2 separate regions of the Homo sapiens genome follow, and region 2 is linked to region 1. Evidence: promoter capture Hi-C in 16 types of primary human blood cells and fetal thymus (Javierre and others, 2016). All regions are on one chromosome and are shown on one strand. The core of a region is centred on a gene start or on the middle of the fragment in contact, and the rest is flanking DNA. Distances in the headings are between cores, read along the strand shown. Region 1 holds the start of PDZD11 (PDZ domain containing 11). Region 2 overlaps TEX11 (testis expressed 11).

The links. Contacts are between HindIII fragments. The CHiCAGO score rates a contact against its expected background, and 5 or more counts as called.
Region 2: a fragment that was not itself captured here is called in contact with the fragment with the promoter of PDZD11 in region 1 in 1 of 17 cell types (M2 macrophages); the score reaches 6.5 in M2 macrophages.

Annotation. Positions count from the first base shown.
Region 1 is chrX:70,286,624-70,294,588 of GRCh38, forward strand. It overlaps PDZD11 (PDZ domain containing 11), which reads right to left and starts at 3,304. Exons shown (of 7, transcript NM_016484.5): 1 at 3,237-3,304; 2 at 2,632-2,731; 3 at 1,807-1,890; 4 at 1,494-1,550; 5 at 1,109-1,207; 6 at 653-713; 7 at 1-493. The coding sequence starts at 2,718. The coding sequence ends at 459. It overlaps KIF4A (kinesin family member 4A), which reads left to right and starts at 3,481. Exons shown (of 31, transcript NM_012310.5): 1 at 3,481-3,527; 2 at 3,815-3,955; 3 at 4,068-4,182. The coding sequence starts at 3,836. RefSeq lists a silencer at 3,282-3,461. The HindIII fragment of the contact is 6,290 bases long and covers 1-4,500 here.
Region 2 is chrX:70,667,233-70,675,197 of GRCh38, forward strand. It overlaps TEX11 (testis expressed 11), which reads right to left. Exons shown (of 30, transcript NM_031276.3): 16 at 3,145-3,282. Among named protein-coding and RNA genes, the nearest start is that of SNORD3E, 180 kb to the right of the region's middle. The HindIII fragment of the contact is 1,436 bases long and covers 2,642-4,077 here.

The DNA.
Region 1 (7,965 bases), core at 2,054-4,553:
GAGAGAGGCTAGGAGGAGGAAGGGGTGAAAACAGCGTCTCACTGGAGTCTCAAAAGTGTATGAATCTTCTGGTAGTGCAAGGATGGGATAAGATGGCCAGGGAAGTCAGATGGAAAATCCCCAAGATTCTTTTTGCTACTGATTTCTATAATTAAAATATGACATATGTAAGGGACTAGTGCATGATATTCAATAAATGTCAGTTGTCTTTCCTAACTAGGTTCCTCACAGGCTAGGTTATGCCTAGATATCATCATCCTCCTTTCAGGGAATGAAGCTCACCTAGAAAACTAGGGAACTAAAAGTGCAATATGGTTTGGGTAATGCAGTTGGTTAGCTGTCTCCCCATCCTCCCAACTCACTATTCCAGGGAGGGGCTGAAAACAGAAGTGGCTCCCCTGAAGTCTAGTTAGCATGTCATGACAGAGTCCACATGAAGGGCTGTGGGCTGCAACTTTCTAGTGCACAGTCCTCTCTTTTTGGCGATGATAATCTGAAGGAAAGAAGAAGAAAAGGAGGAACAGAGCAGGTTATCTTCACGCTTGAGCTCCTGATTCCCTATCCCCAACTTGTAGGGCCTCTAGTCATCAGTATTTAAAGAGTTCTTACTTAGGGCCCTGTCAGGAAAGTGAAAAAAGAAAGTGGCACTTACTGTAGGGAAAGAAGCGCACACGCATGCTGATTTCACGAGCTGTCTTCAGGATCTCAACAGCCTGGAAGGAACACAGCAGCTTGTACAAATGAAGAGATATGACCCAAGACAGAATCATAATAGGGGGAAAGGGATTTGCCACTCCAACCTGTGTGTCACTAATAGCTGCTTCCCTCCTGTACTTTCCCAGGAGAGGTGCTTACTTTCTCTCTCTCTTTTTGTTTGTTTGTTTGTTTGTTTTGAGACAGGGTCTTGCTGCGTTGCCTGGGCTGGTCTTAAATTCCTGGGCTCAAGTGATCCTCCCGCCTCAGCCTCCTAAGTAGCTGGGATTACAGGCGTGTACCACAGTGCCCAGCAAAATGCTTTCTTATTAAGTTACAGATTAGGCTACTCCTGTCCAATCTGTCCTATTTGAGATGGCTTCTTGCAGCACCACAGCCCAAGTACTGTGCTCACCTTGCTGTGCTCAATATCTTGGAAATCCACATCATTCACAGCTAGAACTTGGTCCCCTTCCTGCAGTCCTGCTCTATGTGCATCAGAGTCAGGAATCACCTGTTGGTAAAGAGAGAATACATGTGATTGGGATGCGATAATTTCAGAAGACTGTCAGTGAAATTCGGTGCTATTCAAATGTATGGTGCTATTGTTTTTCTGTGACAATGTATGCAGACAGATGGCCTGCCAAATGAAAAGTTTTAAGTGGGAAAGGGGGTGTCTCCATTATACCCCTTCTATGAATCCAGAGTCATCCTCTCAGCCCTTGGGACATTAGGGTTCTGCAATCTGTTAATTTAACAAAGGGAAGTAACGATCCATATTGCCTACTGGGCATAAATACCTTGGAGATGAAGATGCCTAGCTGGGAGGCCTTTCCTCCTCGGATGTTAAATCCCAACTGTAAGACAAGAGCACAGAATGGGGGCTCAATGGAGACCACAAACACAAGAACAACTAGTAGCATCATCGTACAATAGCTCAGCTTGTGTGTCCCTGAGAGGAAAGTCAGAAGTTGCAGAAGTGTTATCTCAGCTTTTCTGTCCACAAGAAGGAAAGTTTCCTCACATCTGCACCTGCTTTCCAATCCATCCCCCCAACACTGCCAATTTGTGGTATGGATGAATCTAGCCTGAAATAAGGTTTCATAAGTTCACCTGAGCTCCAGGAGGCTTCTTCAGTGTGATGGTTCGGGGCAGAAACTGGGTCAACTCATTGTTGTAGTCCGGGTGGTGTACCCTCTGCAAGACACAGCAACCCCAGAAATTTTACCAGTCTTACTTCACACCTACCTTCATCTGAAACACTAATGAATTACCCTGAAGTCAGGAAAAGGAAAGGTCATAGACTTAATTTAAGTAGAACAGATAACACAGACTAAATGAGTAGATGGATAGCACTGGGGCAGCCCAGTAGCTCCCCATTTCTTCACCTTTTTTTTTTTTTTTTGAGATGGAGTTTTGCTCTTGTTGCCCAGGCTGGAGTGCAATGGCTCAATCTCAGCTCACCGCAACCTCTGCCTCCCAGGTTCAAGCAATTCTCCCGCCTCAGCCTCCCTAGTAGCTGGGATTACAGGCATGTGCCACCACGCCCGGCTAATTTTGTATTTTTAGTAGAGACGCGGTTTCTCCATGTTGGTCAGGCTGGTCTCGAACTCCCAACCTCAGGTGATCCGCCTGTTTCGGCCTCCCAAAGTGCTGGGATTACAGGCATGAGCCACCGCGCTGAACCTCTTAACAGTATGGAAATGAAGGCTCCAAATTTCCAGAATTAACCGGTGTGAACAGACCCTAGCAGGAGGCTTCCATAAAGAAGTTCCCAATGGGTCCTGTTGCTCAGAATCCAGCTTCTGGGTCCTCTGGCTACAAGTGCTAAGATTCACTCTCCGTTTCGCCTTCTAACCCTGCTATCCTACCTTTCATGCATCATCTCATGCCCACGGGGAAAAAAATCTCCTACTCAGGAATACAGATGGTTCCCACCTCATGAGGAGGAATCCATGCTGGAGGATTCTCATAGGCAGGCAAGAAAACCACCGGGTAGTCATCATAAGGAATCCGGCTGTCCATCTCGGGCAAGGCCCTGGAAGAGTGAATCAGAACAGACAAAAAGTGGTTCAAAAGGGAGAGCAGCCCAGCAAGTTTCAGACAGCAGCTCCAACCCATTCCAAGGCAGTCAGTCTACAGGCCCAGCCCATATCTAGGTGTTAAGGTTGGAGGAGAGAAGGAAGACAGAAGAAAACTCTTAACTTAGCTAAACATCTTCTGGATGCCAAGCAACCTGTCAGGTACTCTAGAAAGAGGACCTCATTTTTCACAATCCTGCAAAACAGATGTTACCGTCTCAAACCTGGAGAAGAGGAAATCAGGGTCGAGTCTAAAAAGATCTACTTTCGAAGCCCAAGGGAGTGTTAACTATCCGCAGGGACTCGGGGCAAGGCACCGCCCCACATTTCCTAGATGTGATTAGTAATGGTAGGGTCCTTAGATCGACCCTTCCTTCACCTGACCAGCCACCTCCCACGTCCCCGCCCCACATTCTGCCTGAGACCCGCACTCTCAGCCGCATAAACGCCGCACCACCTCACCAGTGGGCAGTCCACAGCGACCTCAGACTCCGCTCACTGACAATTCAGTCTGGGAACCGGAAGCGGATGCTCCGCAGGGTCGAAAAGAGGCCGGGCCAGGGTGCAACGAGCTGACCCTCCCCTTCCCACCGCGCCGGCCTGCGCGCGCCGACGTGCGCGCTCCGCCCTCGGGCAGTCCGCACTGCAATTGGTTGGCGTCTCCGGGACGGATTTGAAACTTGGCGGTTAAAGCTCCGGCTGGGACAGGGCGGCGGGAGGCCCAGGGAGAACGGGGAAGGGACATTTAGTTTGGTGAGTTACGGGGGCACACCTTAGCTCAGAACCTGTTTTTACCCAGTACCCTAGGGCTTTGGTTCTTTGTCGCCGTCCCCGTTGGAGTTTTTTCTTTGCCTTTCAGAAGCCCGTGCACTCTCTTTAGAGTGCAGGGCTGACGGGCGGTCCAGCCCTGGCCAAGTCATGGAGCGTGAATCTCCCAAGTCAGTGTTCCCGCTGAGGAGGGTCGGAACCGGGGAGGACGCCCTCCCACCCCTGCTGACCTACTAACATTCATCAGCGAGCCTTCTTTTTCCCCCTCGCAGAGACGGTGCTGAGATAGGATCATGAAGGAAGAGGTGAAGGGAATTCCCGTAAGAGTGGCGCTGCGTTGTCGCCCTCTGGTCCCCAAAGAGATTAGCGAGGGCTGCCAGATGTGCCTTTCCTTCGTGCCCGGAGAGCCTCAGGTGCGTAGCAGAGTCCAGAGCCTGTGTCTGAACAGCTGGGGCCAAATGGTAACGAGGGGTGTGGTCTTGCCTTTCATTTTTAACCTTACGCCTTGTCCCGTGCCTTCTCTAGGTGGTGGTTGGTACAGATAAATCCTTCACCTACGATTTTGTATTTGATCCCTCTACTGAACAGGAAGAAGTCTTCAATACAGCAGTAGCGCCACTCATAAAAGGTGTATTTAAAGGTAAGGCGATTTGATTCCTCGAACGTAACATATATATTCCTTGAGCATATACTATGTGCCAAGCACTGTGCTTGGGCACTGCAAATACAGGAATCGATGAATCATGATTCCTGCCTTCAAGAAGCCCTTAGCCTAATAACATTTGTCAACGTCTCTGTACCCTTGAAGCTAGTTTTATTCTGTATTTGCTTTATGTGGTTCTGTTCATCTTTGACTTGTATATGTTTGTTTATCCTGGAACTTCATTAGATTATAAACTCTGTGGTGGTTGCTGATGGTGATAAGTGTGCCAACCTACTTGAGGCCCAGGCACTGCAAAGCTTGTTGAGGGATTCAGGTGATAAATAATATAGCTTCGAGGCCCTGAAGGAGTTCAAAGTCCAGGGGATAGGAATGGAGATAGATGACTACATAAATAATTTTGAATATATAAAAATTTTTAAATTTTTTGTACCTATCTTTTAGAAGAAAAATTTTTCAAGTTAAAAATATACAACAGAGTCAGTCCTATGGAAGTAGTAGCTCTGCTCTCATACAAAGTGGTATGAAAAACAAAAGGATGGCTCTAACTCTGCTTGGGGAATTTGGGGTGAATTTCACAGAGTGGGAAAACTTTGAGATGGGTCTTGAATAATGAGTATACTTCTTTTAGGTGGAGAAGGGGAGTGCCTAAAGCCTCTGAATACTATCACCAGTTAATAATCTTTACTGGGGAAGCTAAGTCTTTAATGCTGTTGAGGACCATAGCAGGGTTCTAAAGAAGGGAGCAGTGCCTGAGAGATGTCTAATTATTATTCTAATACAGTGGTTATTCAAGATTCAAAACAGAGGTTCGTTTAAAAGAAGTAGAATCATGGCATGCTAGTGCCTTAAAGTTGAAAGAGACATTTGTATATCATCTAGTTTGTTTTTCATCCAAAGAAAAATGCGTTCTAACAATATCTGTTAGGTGAACTGCCAGTGTCTAAAATTTTTTTGACAGGGAACTCACTGACTCACAGGTAGTCCAGTTGAGATTTGGGTTTTGGACAAGTCTAATTATGTTATAAAGATCTTTATAATGAGATGAAATTTGCTTCCTGGTAATTTCTACCCAGTGATGTTAGTTCATTCCTTTAGAAGCCTTCTTCTAGGCAACAGCTATTCACATATTTTTTCACGTTTTTTTGTTTAATGATATGGCTCAAGGAACACTGAAATTTTTGTTTCAAAATTTTAAGATATTAATGCAATAATTTCAAACGTATAGAATGTTGCAAGAACAGCATAAAAAACATTTTTTCCCTGAACCATTTGAGATGAATCATTGGCCTGATAACCCCCCATACTTTAGTGTATATTTCCTACAAAAAAGGACTTTCTTCTAAGTTACCACAATACAACCATCAAAACAATAAAATTTGCACTGCTACATTACTACCATCTATTCCTGAAACCCCATTCAAGTTTCACCAATTGTCCCAGTAAATATTTTATGGCAAAAAGATCTAGTTCAAAATCACGTTTTATTTAGTTTTGCTGTCTCTTTAGTCTCCATTCTAAAACAGTTCTTTAGTCTTTTTTTGACTTTTATGAGTTTGACACTTTGAAGATTACAGGCCAGTTATTTTGTAAACCTTTTCTCAATATTGTTTTGTCTGGCATTTACTTATGATTAGATTCAGGTTGTGTATCTTTTAGCAGGAATATCACAGAAGTGGTGCTGTTTTCTTCTCACTGAAGCCTATTGGGCAGCACATGATTTTGATTTATTCTATTACTACTGATGTTCATTTTGATCATTTGATTAAGGTGTTAATCTGCTGGGCTTCTCCACTATAATCTTTTTCCTTTTTACATACAGTATTTGGAAAACCGTTAAGTGTTTCTACCTAATTCTCTTCAATTATCCCCGCCTTTCCTTTAGCCATTCCTGAAACAATATGCTTTTCAGACCCTGCACTATCTGGTCAGATTCCTCAGGCTATACCTCCACAGCTTAGTAAGAGCACCACAGTTCTACTTTTACATTCTTAACTTGGGAAACTGATAGAATTAAATTATGTTCTTTAAAGGCAACATAAAGTAGAAAGTGATTCCAATATACATGTGTTTGCTTAACATTACCCTTGGTTGCAAAAACAAAGTCAATATTTTTTATAGTCAGCTCAACAGCACCCTCTTGTACTCTGAACTCCTGGTACCACAGAGCCCTAAGTATTTTGTAAAAACTACTAAAACCTCATTTCCCAAGTTATTGCTATCTGCACATATCTGTGGTATTGCAGAAAATTATGGAATGTTATTCTCTTGCCCCATAGTCATGCCAGCTGATACCAGCGGTCTATTACAGTGAAAATCTCAATTTAGCATCTTCTTATGATCCTTCATTTAGACCAACAAGTTTTTTCAAAACTTCAAAGTTTTCATTTAGATTAAAACGTTGTTTCAAAGTTTAAAGGGTTTTTTCCTTCAGACTGCAAAATTATCTTGGTAAATAGCAGATAACAGCTTTGACATAAATATGATGATCATTTAACAGAGAAAGCTTGCTTTGTGTTCCTTGACAACATGTCTGCCACACTAATAAGGAACAGACTTCCCTAAGGTCATTATTTTTTTCACCTTGAAGTAAATTTGCATTTGTAGTTCCTTTTAGGTGCCATGCTTATAGTTTTAGAAGCTACTACTGTACAATTAAGTAGCAAGTTATAATTATGCATCAGTTAACGACAGGGATACCTTCTGAGAAGTGCATTATTAGGCGGTTTTGTCATTGTATGAACATGGTGGAGTGCATGTATACAAACCTAGATAGTATAGCCTCCTATACACCTGAGCCTACTGCTCCTAGGCTACAAACCTGCAAAGCATGTTACTGTACTGAATACTGTAGGCGGTTGTAACATCATGGAAAATATTTGTGATCTAAGTATAGAAAAGGTGAGGTAAAAATACAGTATGAAAGGTAAAAACTGATACACCCGTATAGGGCAATTACCGTGAATGGAGCTTGCAGGACTGGAAGTTGCTCTGAGTGAGTCAGTGATGAGTGGTGAGTGAATGTAAGGGCCTAAAACATTATTGTATACTACTGTAGACTTTATAAACACTGGATACTTAGCTTACACTAAATTTATTAAACTTTGTGTCTTTCTTCAATCATAAATTAACCTTCGCTTATTATACGTTTTTTACTTTATAAACTTTAATTTTTTAAATCTTTTTGACTTTTTTGTAATAATACTTAGCTTAAAACACAAATACATTGCACAGCGGAATAAACATTTTCACTCTGCATCTTTATTCTGTAAGCTTTTTTCTTTTTAAAAAAATATATTTTTTTACTTTTTAAACTTTTTGTTAAAAACTAAGACACAAACATACACATTAGCCTAGGCCCACCCAGGGCCAGGATCTTCAATATCACTGTCTTCCACCTCCACGTCTTGTCCTACTGGAAAGTCTTCAGGGACAATAACATCCATAGAGCTGTCATCTCCTATGACAACAATACTTTCTTCTGGAATACCTCCTGAAGGACCTGCCTGAGGCTGTTTTACAGTTAACTTTATTTATCATAAGTAGAAGGAGTATACTCTTAAAAATGATAAAAAGTATGGTATAGTATACTAAACACATAAACTAGTAACAATCATTTATTATTATGAAGCGTTACATACTGTACATAGTTGGATGTGCTGTACTTTTATATGACTAGCAGTGAAGTAGGTTTCTTTACCCCAGCATCAACACAAACATGTAACATGTTGCACTGCAATATTATAATGGCTAAGTCAATAA
Region 2 (7,965 bases), core at 2,110-4,609, 380 kb after region 1:
GAGTTGATTAGTTTCAGCACAGACTGTATGGCCTGCAAAACCTAAAATATTTACTGTGGTTCTTTACAGAAAGTTTGTTGACCCCTATAATATAACATAATACTTATTTATCTTTTTATTGTTTGCCTCTCCTAGTGGAAAATAATGGGGACAGCAGTATTTGTCCATGTGGATAAAGGTTTTTATATATTTTGTTCATTACTATATCCCCAATGCCTAGAACAGTACTTAACACATAGGAGACAATAAATAAATATTTTTGAATGAATGAACACTAAAAAATTGGATTAGAAAGTTTGGCAACAAAAAGAAGGACACAGAACTGAAGTTTGAGGAGGATTACAAAGTTGAAGGAAGGTTTTTGGATAAAGAAGACTTCAAGGTAATTATAGTGACAGGAGAAAGAAACAGTAGGCCGGGCGCGGTGGCTCACGCCTGTAATCCCAGCACTTTGGGAGGCCGAGGCGGGCAGATCATGAGGTCAGGAGTTCGAGACCAGCCTGGCCAAAAAGGTGAAACCCTGTCTCTACTAAAAATATAAAAAATTACCCAGGCGTGGTGGCCCATGCCTGTAATCCCAGCTACTCAGGAGGCTGAGACAGGAGAATTGCTTGAGCTCAGGAGGCGGAGGTTGCAGTGAGCTGAGATAGCACCATTGCACTCCAGCCTGGGCAACAAGAGTGAGACTCTGTCTCAAAAAAAAAAAATAAAAAAGAAACAGTAGAGAATGATTAAACAGCTAGGGTTGAGATCTGTAGAGTAAGGTCCCCAGACAAAGTTACTTCTTTCTCGTAGGTAAGAGAAAAGAAAGGATGGGTGAAGAGGTGAGAAATTGATGAAGTTCATGTCAGTGGCTACAAGCTCAGCAAATCACACGATAAGATCTTTTGCTACAACAAAGGAGAAAGCATGGGTGCTTAAGGACAGAAAAAAAATGTTTTGGAATTATCACTGTGGGGAATGTGATAAAAACTCAACAAGAGTCAGTATTATTGACTACCTAGCTGAAAAACCATGAAATTTTAGCAAACCCAATAAACATGGTTTCATAAATTTTCCCAACAATGCTCAAGCAACTCAAAGGAAGGAGTGAAGAAAGACAATGAAAGCTAACAAAGGTTAGACACTGGCGAGGTGGGATTATTAAAATATGATGGATTGTGTATTTTTTTCACCTTTCTGTCTGTCCTAGTGCATAAGAGGATATTCATTGTATATGGAGGGTATCCAATCAATGTCTGCTAAATTCAAGACAAGGATGAAATGGAGAAATATACTAACAGTAACCAACAAAGTTACCTTGAATATATTCAAAATATCCTTTGGTTTCACCACTAATCTGGCCATAAATGATACAGTTACATATTGAGTACGCACCATTAAAATACACCTGGTTTACTGTTCTCCTATTCTTCCTAACCTCACTATTAATACCATTTGAATTTCCAATTATAAAGTCAGTGCTATACTAGGCTCTAGGACCAAACTTGACATTAGAAGAGATGTAAGTAGCATTGCTTAAGTCTCAGAAAACTGTATCTAGTCAACTTGTATTCCTCTTCTGGTCATTGCTTCCCAGTTTGGCTCCCTATGCAGGGGATCTGCTCTTAAAAACAGCCTCATATCCTGGCCCCTTTAGTTGTGGAGATCTACTTTGCTCTTTCTAGTATGTCTGCACACACTCCTATTCCTCAAAGATTTGTGTACTGTCTCAGAGTCCAAATATCTGTGATTGAAACCCTGTTCCCTGCTGTTATGTTTATGTGATGCCAACCACCTGTGTGCCTGACTTACGGACTATTTCCAACATTTAGATTTCTCTCATTGCCATGCTCTGCTTATCTGCCCATTAGGATACCATGATGTCAGCTGCTTGAGTGAGTTGAAGGCAACTATACTTTGTTCATCTCTGTAACCTCAGAGCCTAGCATAATGTCTGGTACTGTGTTCTTTCTTTCTTTCCTGACTGGCTGATTAGATATCCTCCCTTGGCCTGCAAATGCATCCATTCCCCAACTAGCATGTCTACATCCAGATATAGGTCCTTCCCAAGCTGCCTAGCTCACTGTGTCATAAATCATGGAAGTTATAAAGGCTCTGTGATTGCCTTCTTTATTAGTCTTTAAGTAAACAGTAGGCAACTACCTTTCTGAAATAGTGCTGTCCTGTGCAGAATTAGGTAACAAAATCTACATGATCATCTTCCTTTTAGATCTTAAACTGTAGGTAACTATTTTCTGAAACAGTTAAATGCTAGCCTGTACAACATTATGATGAATTAAGTAACATTTCAAGTTCTCTTCCAGGGCTGTGACTTTATAACATATAAACTAAATAGCAAATATTTTCTTGAAAGAAAATCTAAAGTATTTAAGTCAGATAAACAACTCTTCAAAAATAAACCTTCAAAGAAAACATCTGGAATCATTACCCTTAATCACCTAGGTGAACAAAGGTTAGACCTGTCATTAAAACTTGAAAGGCAACAAAAACCTTCATATTTCATTTGGGTTCACACTTGTCCTTCTAGTTCTTTGTCCTTCTAAGAGCCAATACCCCTCATTACGTGCATACCATATGATAACCAAAGGAAGAAATGTCCTAATTGCTTTGGAAAGTATTTCCGTTCTATCTTTAAACAAGCTTTTATCTTCTTTACCTTCTAGAATTTTGTCCTGATAAGAAATCAGTTAAAGAACATTTTCTAGGGTGGTTGGAAAGGCAAGAGATAACAACCTAGAAAGTGAAAGAATGGCCACTTCATTCAAGTATTTGGTCTCAATGAATGCTTGACAAAAGTGTGTACTTCAAAATTTAGCTTGCTGCAAAGGACAATATTACAGATGGTTAGTAGCAGATAACTTTGTTCAGGAGTTCCAATGATATATTACCTTTCAGAATAGGTGTGAAAAATAAAGGGTAAGTAATAGAATTAATGGTATTCCAAATTCTCTCTTTCTTTGGGAAGTTTCACTCTATGTTTACAGTGTGCAAATCAAGAAAATGTCAATTTGACCTTGTTCTATATGAGGGAACTCTCAGACATCCTAAACTAACAGCCAGGAAGTCACAGCATGGCATCTATCTCTCTGCCACTGCACATAAGAACATTTGCTACCTCTGAAAATAGATAAATCAAAGGACCTTATCAAGTTGTTGCAAATTCAGGTAACAGCAAGCCATGTTCCTCTGCAGCTTGGTGAAGTCCAGATCCATTTCATCAGTTGAATAAAACCTCAGAGAATAATAGTACCATTGTAGGGCATCAGTGTAATTTTGTACCTAAAGTTTAAAAAGAAACAACAAAATCACAGCGATGTCGCTACCCTATCTTTCCCAAGTCACCTCTAGAAACAAATAAAAGATGCTGTTGGTTTCTTTTTTAGGCAATCAAAACACAATATCCTTTATATAGGGTTCTAAGTGCATTTTATTATCAGTCTTGGTCAACATAAGTTTTAGATAAGGTGGCAATCAGTATTCTTTCTTTTTCCTACACATTAGAAATTTCACACATAGGATGAAGAGTCTAAGAGTGTAGTAAACCACCCCAGAAAACTTAAAATCTATTTTAAAAGTTATTAAAACAACAACGACAAAAATTTTAAAAGAGAACACCCATAATTCACCATGCTAATGCAGCTATTTTCATTTATCTATGTTCAATTTTAACTGTATTCTTTTGTATATTTACCTAGTTGTAATCGTAGCTTATATAGAATTTCATGTTCTATTCTTTCCATTTAATTTTGTTTTGTACATATTAATCTATGTTGCTATGTAGTCTTCACAGTAATCAATTTTAGGAGATACATAACATTTAATCAAGTATATAATGATTTTCTTAATGTTAGCTATTTAGTGAATTTGCAGGGTTTTTACTATTGTAATTGATGCTGCTGTATTTGTATATAAAAATACATTTTTCTCTTGAGTAAATTTAAAATTTTCAATGGTAAGAAGCTAGCTAGGGAAAATCTGATAGGAATAACCTGGATAATTATTTCTTAATCTAAGAAAACTGAGACTGCTTATAAACCAAGGTAAGGTAAATGATTCCCTTGTACCCTATCAAGAAGCTTCATATTTTTCAATTAAGAATAGGAGCCATTAGGACCTTCAAGGAATAAAACACCCTCTTCAACTAGAAACAATTATGCTAAATAGGTAAAACACTGCCTTTGACTATTACATTAGTCATAGTAGATTAGAAATATGTCATATTAGAAATAGTCAATTAGAAATAAGATTACATTCCTCTCCAGTGTTGGAAGTGGATGTTTTAAGAAAATTATTCAGCAAGACTGGAAAATGAGAGGAAAGAAAAAGAATCAATAGAAGAATGGGAATTCTGAAGTAGTTCTTCACCTATTCAGTAAAAAAATAAATAAAGGCCTTCTAAAAGAGAATACGAATATCATTCTATCTTGTGGTACCTAACCATAAGACCTAGGTTTCTACATGCTCCTATAAGGGATTCTCTTTCCTTCTCTTGGGTCTAATTCTTTGTTTCTCAGATTTTGTTCCCTTTTTTCTCTTCACATCTTTCTCCTACAAAACCTACCATAACATTTTTTGGAAAACAGTTTTATTGAGGTACAATTGACATATGAAACACTATGAATATTTAAACTGTACAATTGTTTTGATATATATATATATATATATATATATATATACACACACACATAGCTAAAACCATCAACACAGTCAACGGAGTGAACACATCCATCACAACCATTTTTTCTTTGTAATCCCTCAATCCAGTTCATTCTGGTCTCTCATACCCCAAGCAGTTATGGATGTGCTTTCTATAACTTTCTATAACTATTAATTTTTATTTTATAGGCTTTTATACAATGGAATCATCTAATATGTATTAATACTTTTTTGCCTGGCCCCTTTCGCTCAGCAAAACAGTTTCTAGATTTATCCCCATTATTGCATCTATCAATAGTTCATTCCTTTTCATTGCTGAGTAGTATTTCATTGAAGGACATACCAGTTTGTTTATCCACTCACTTGTTGATGGACATTTGGCTGTTTCCAGTTTTTAACTATTATAAATAAAGCTGCTATCAGCTTTTACATGCAAGTTTTTGTATGGATAAATAATTCCTTTTCTCTTGAGTACATACATAGGATTGAAATGGCTGGATCACATGATAGGGGCAAGTTTAACATTTTAGAAAACTGCCAAACTATTTTCCAAACCGTCTGTACTATCTTATATTTCCACCATGAAGTTCCAGTTCCTCAACATCTTCGTCAGCATTTGGTATGGTTAATCTTTTCCATTTTGGCTATTCTAAGAATTATGTATTGGTATCTCCTTGGGGTTTTCGTTTGCATTTCCCTAATGACTCATAAGTCATCTTTTTTGGGTGCTTATTTTCATGCATATATCCCTTTTTGGTGAAATGTCTGTTCATATCCTTTGCTAATTTTTGAATTGTTTTTCTTTGTACATTGAGTTTAGAGAGTTCTTTCTATGTTTTAGCTACTAGCCCATTATTGTATACATGGTCTGAAAATTTTTCTCCCAGTCTCTAGCTTTTTTCATCTATTCAACAGGATCTCTTTTTTTTAAAGTATAATTTTCACTTTATTTTCTTCAGAGGATAGCTTTTTTTTCAGTCCTTAAGGACTCAGCTCCATATGTAGGCTTTGGTGGAGGTTGGTGGGCAGCACCCACAGGTCTAAATCAGGGTTGGGGTGTTTGGTCCTTACCGGCTTCACGAGATTGATTCTGGACTACCTTGCTGTGAATGGTGCAACTCATGCAGTAATGTAGCTTCACAAACAGCTTGGGAAGCACATAGACATCAAAGACACTGGCTTCAGCTATGTCCCTGATAGCTGTGGCCTCTACTATGTTTTGTTGTTTTCTTTGTTTTTAGCTTTTGAGACAGGATCTTGCTCTGTGACCCAGGCTGGAGTGAAGTGGCATGATCACAGCTCACTGCAGCCTTAAACTCCTGGGCTCAAAGGATCCTTCTGCTTCAGCCTCCTGAGTAGCTGGGACTACAGGTGCATGCTACCACACCAGGCTAAATTTTTTATTTTTGTATAGATGGTGCTCCTTTATATTGCCCAGGCTGGTTGGTCCCAAACTCCTAGGCTCGAGCAATCCTCCCGCCTCAGCCTCTCAAAGCACTGGGATTACAGGCAGGAGCCACCACACTTGGCTTTCTACCATATTTTGAATGATAAACTTCTTAACATCCTTGTCTTTAGTCACATATCAAGTGCAGTTCATGCAGGGAATAGGCTGCACATGACCTGGCCTAGATCCTGAAGATTTTCTCCTATGTATTTTTATTGCACATTTTACATCTAATTTTATAATCTATTTAATTTTTGTATAAAATGTGAAGTTAAGGTCAAGGGTTTTTTTTTTTCTATGGATGTCCAATTTCTCCAGCACCATTAGTTGAAAACACCATCTTTTTCCATTGAATTACTTTTGTGCTTTCTCAAAAATCAGTTGAGCATATTTGTGTGGGATTATTTTTTGGTTTTCCATTCTGTTCCATTGATCTATGGATCTATGTCTCTAATGATACCACACAGTCTAGATTACTGTAGCTATATAAAAAGTGTTGAAATTGAATAGGGTAATTCTTTCTGTTCTATTCTCTCTCAGGTTGTTTTGGCTATTTTCTTTTTATAATTTTTATTTTAGGTTTAGGGGTACAGGTGAAGGTTTGTTACATAGGTAAACACATGTCACAGGGGTTTGTTGTACATATTATTGCATCACCCAGATATTAAGCCTAGTACCCAATAGTTATCTTTTCTGCTCCTCTCCCTTCTCTCATCCTCCACCCTCAAGTAGACACCAGTGTCTGTTGTTTCCTTCTTTGTGTTCATAAGTTCTTATCATTTAACTCCCACTTATAAGTGAAAACATGCATTATTTGGCTTTCTGATCCTGTGTTAGTTTTCTCAGGACGATAGCTTCCAGCTCCATCAATGTTCCCGCAAAAGACATGATCTTTTCTTTTTTATGGCTGCATAATATTCTATGGTGTATATGTACCACATTTTCTTTATTCAGTCTGTCATTGATGGGCATTTAGGTTGAGTCCATGTCTTTCCTATTGTGAATAGTGCTGCAATGAACATTTGCATGTATGTGTCTTTATGATAGAATGATTTTTATTCCTCTGGGTATATATCCAGTAATGGGATTGCTGGGCCAAATGGTATTCTGCTTTTAGTTCTTTCAGAAATAGCCATACTGCTTTCCACAGTGGTTGAACTAATTTACACTCCCACCAACAGTATATAAGTGTTCCTTTTTCTCTACAACCTTGCCAGCATCTATTATTTTTTGACTTTTTAATAATGTATCTTGGCTATTTTCATTCCATTGTTTTATATATAAATTTTAGAACAATCTTGTCTCTCTATATTTTTCTGATGCTTTTGTTTATAACCAATTTGTATCTTTATGTTTAAAGTACATTTCTTTTAAGCAGTACATAAACTTGGGTCTTGCTCTTTTATCCAGTTTGACAATCTCTGCCTTTTCACTGGGGTCTTGAGGTCATTTTCACTTAATGTGATTTTTTTTTCATATGCTTAGATGTAAATCTATCATCTTGCTATTTGTCTTCTATTTGTGCCATCTTTTTTGATCCGTCTTTCCTTTTTCTGCCTTATTTTAGATTATTTGAATATTTTTATGATTTGATTTTATCTCATTTTTAAAAAAAACTCTTTGTTTTGCTATTTTAATGGTTGTTTTAGGGTACATAGTATACATGTTTAACTTATCATAGTCTATCTTCAAGTGATGTTATACCACCTCACTTATGGTATACTTCCATTTCTCTCTTCTTGGCCTATATGTTCTTGTCATGCATCTTACTTTTACAGGTTATAAACTGCAGAATACAATGTTATTATTTTTGTTTAAGCAATAAACTATCTTTTAAAGAGATTGTAATAATACGAAAA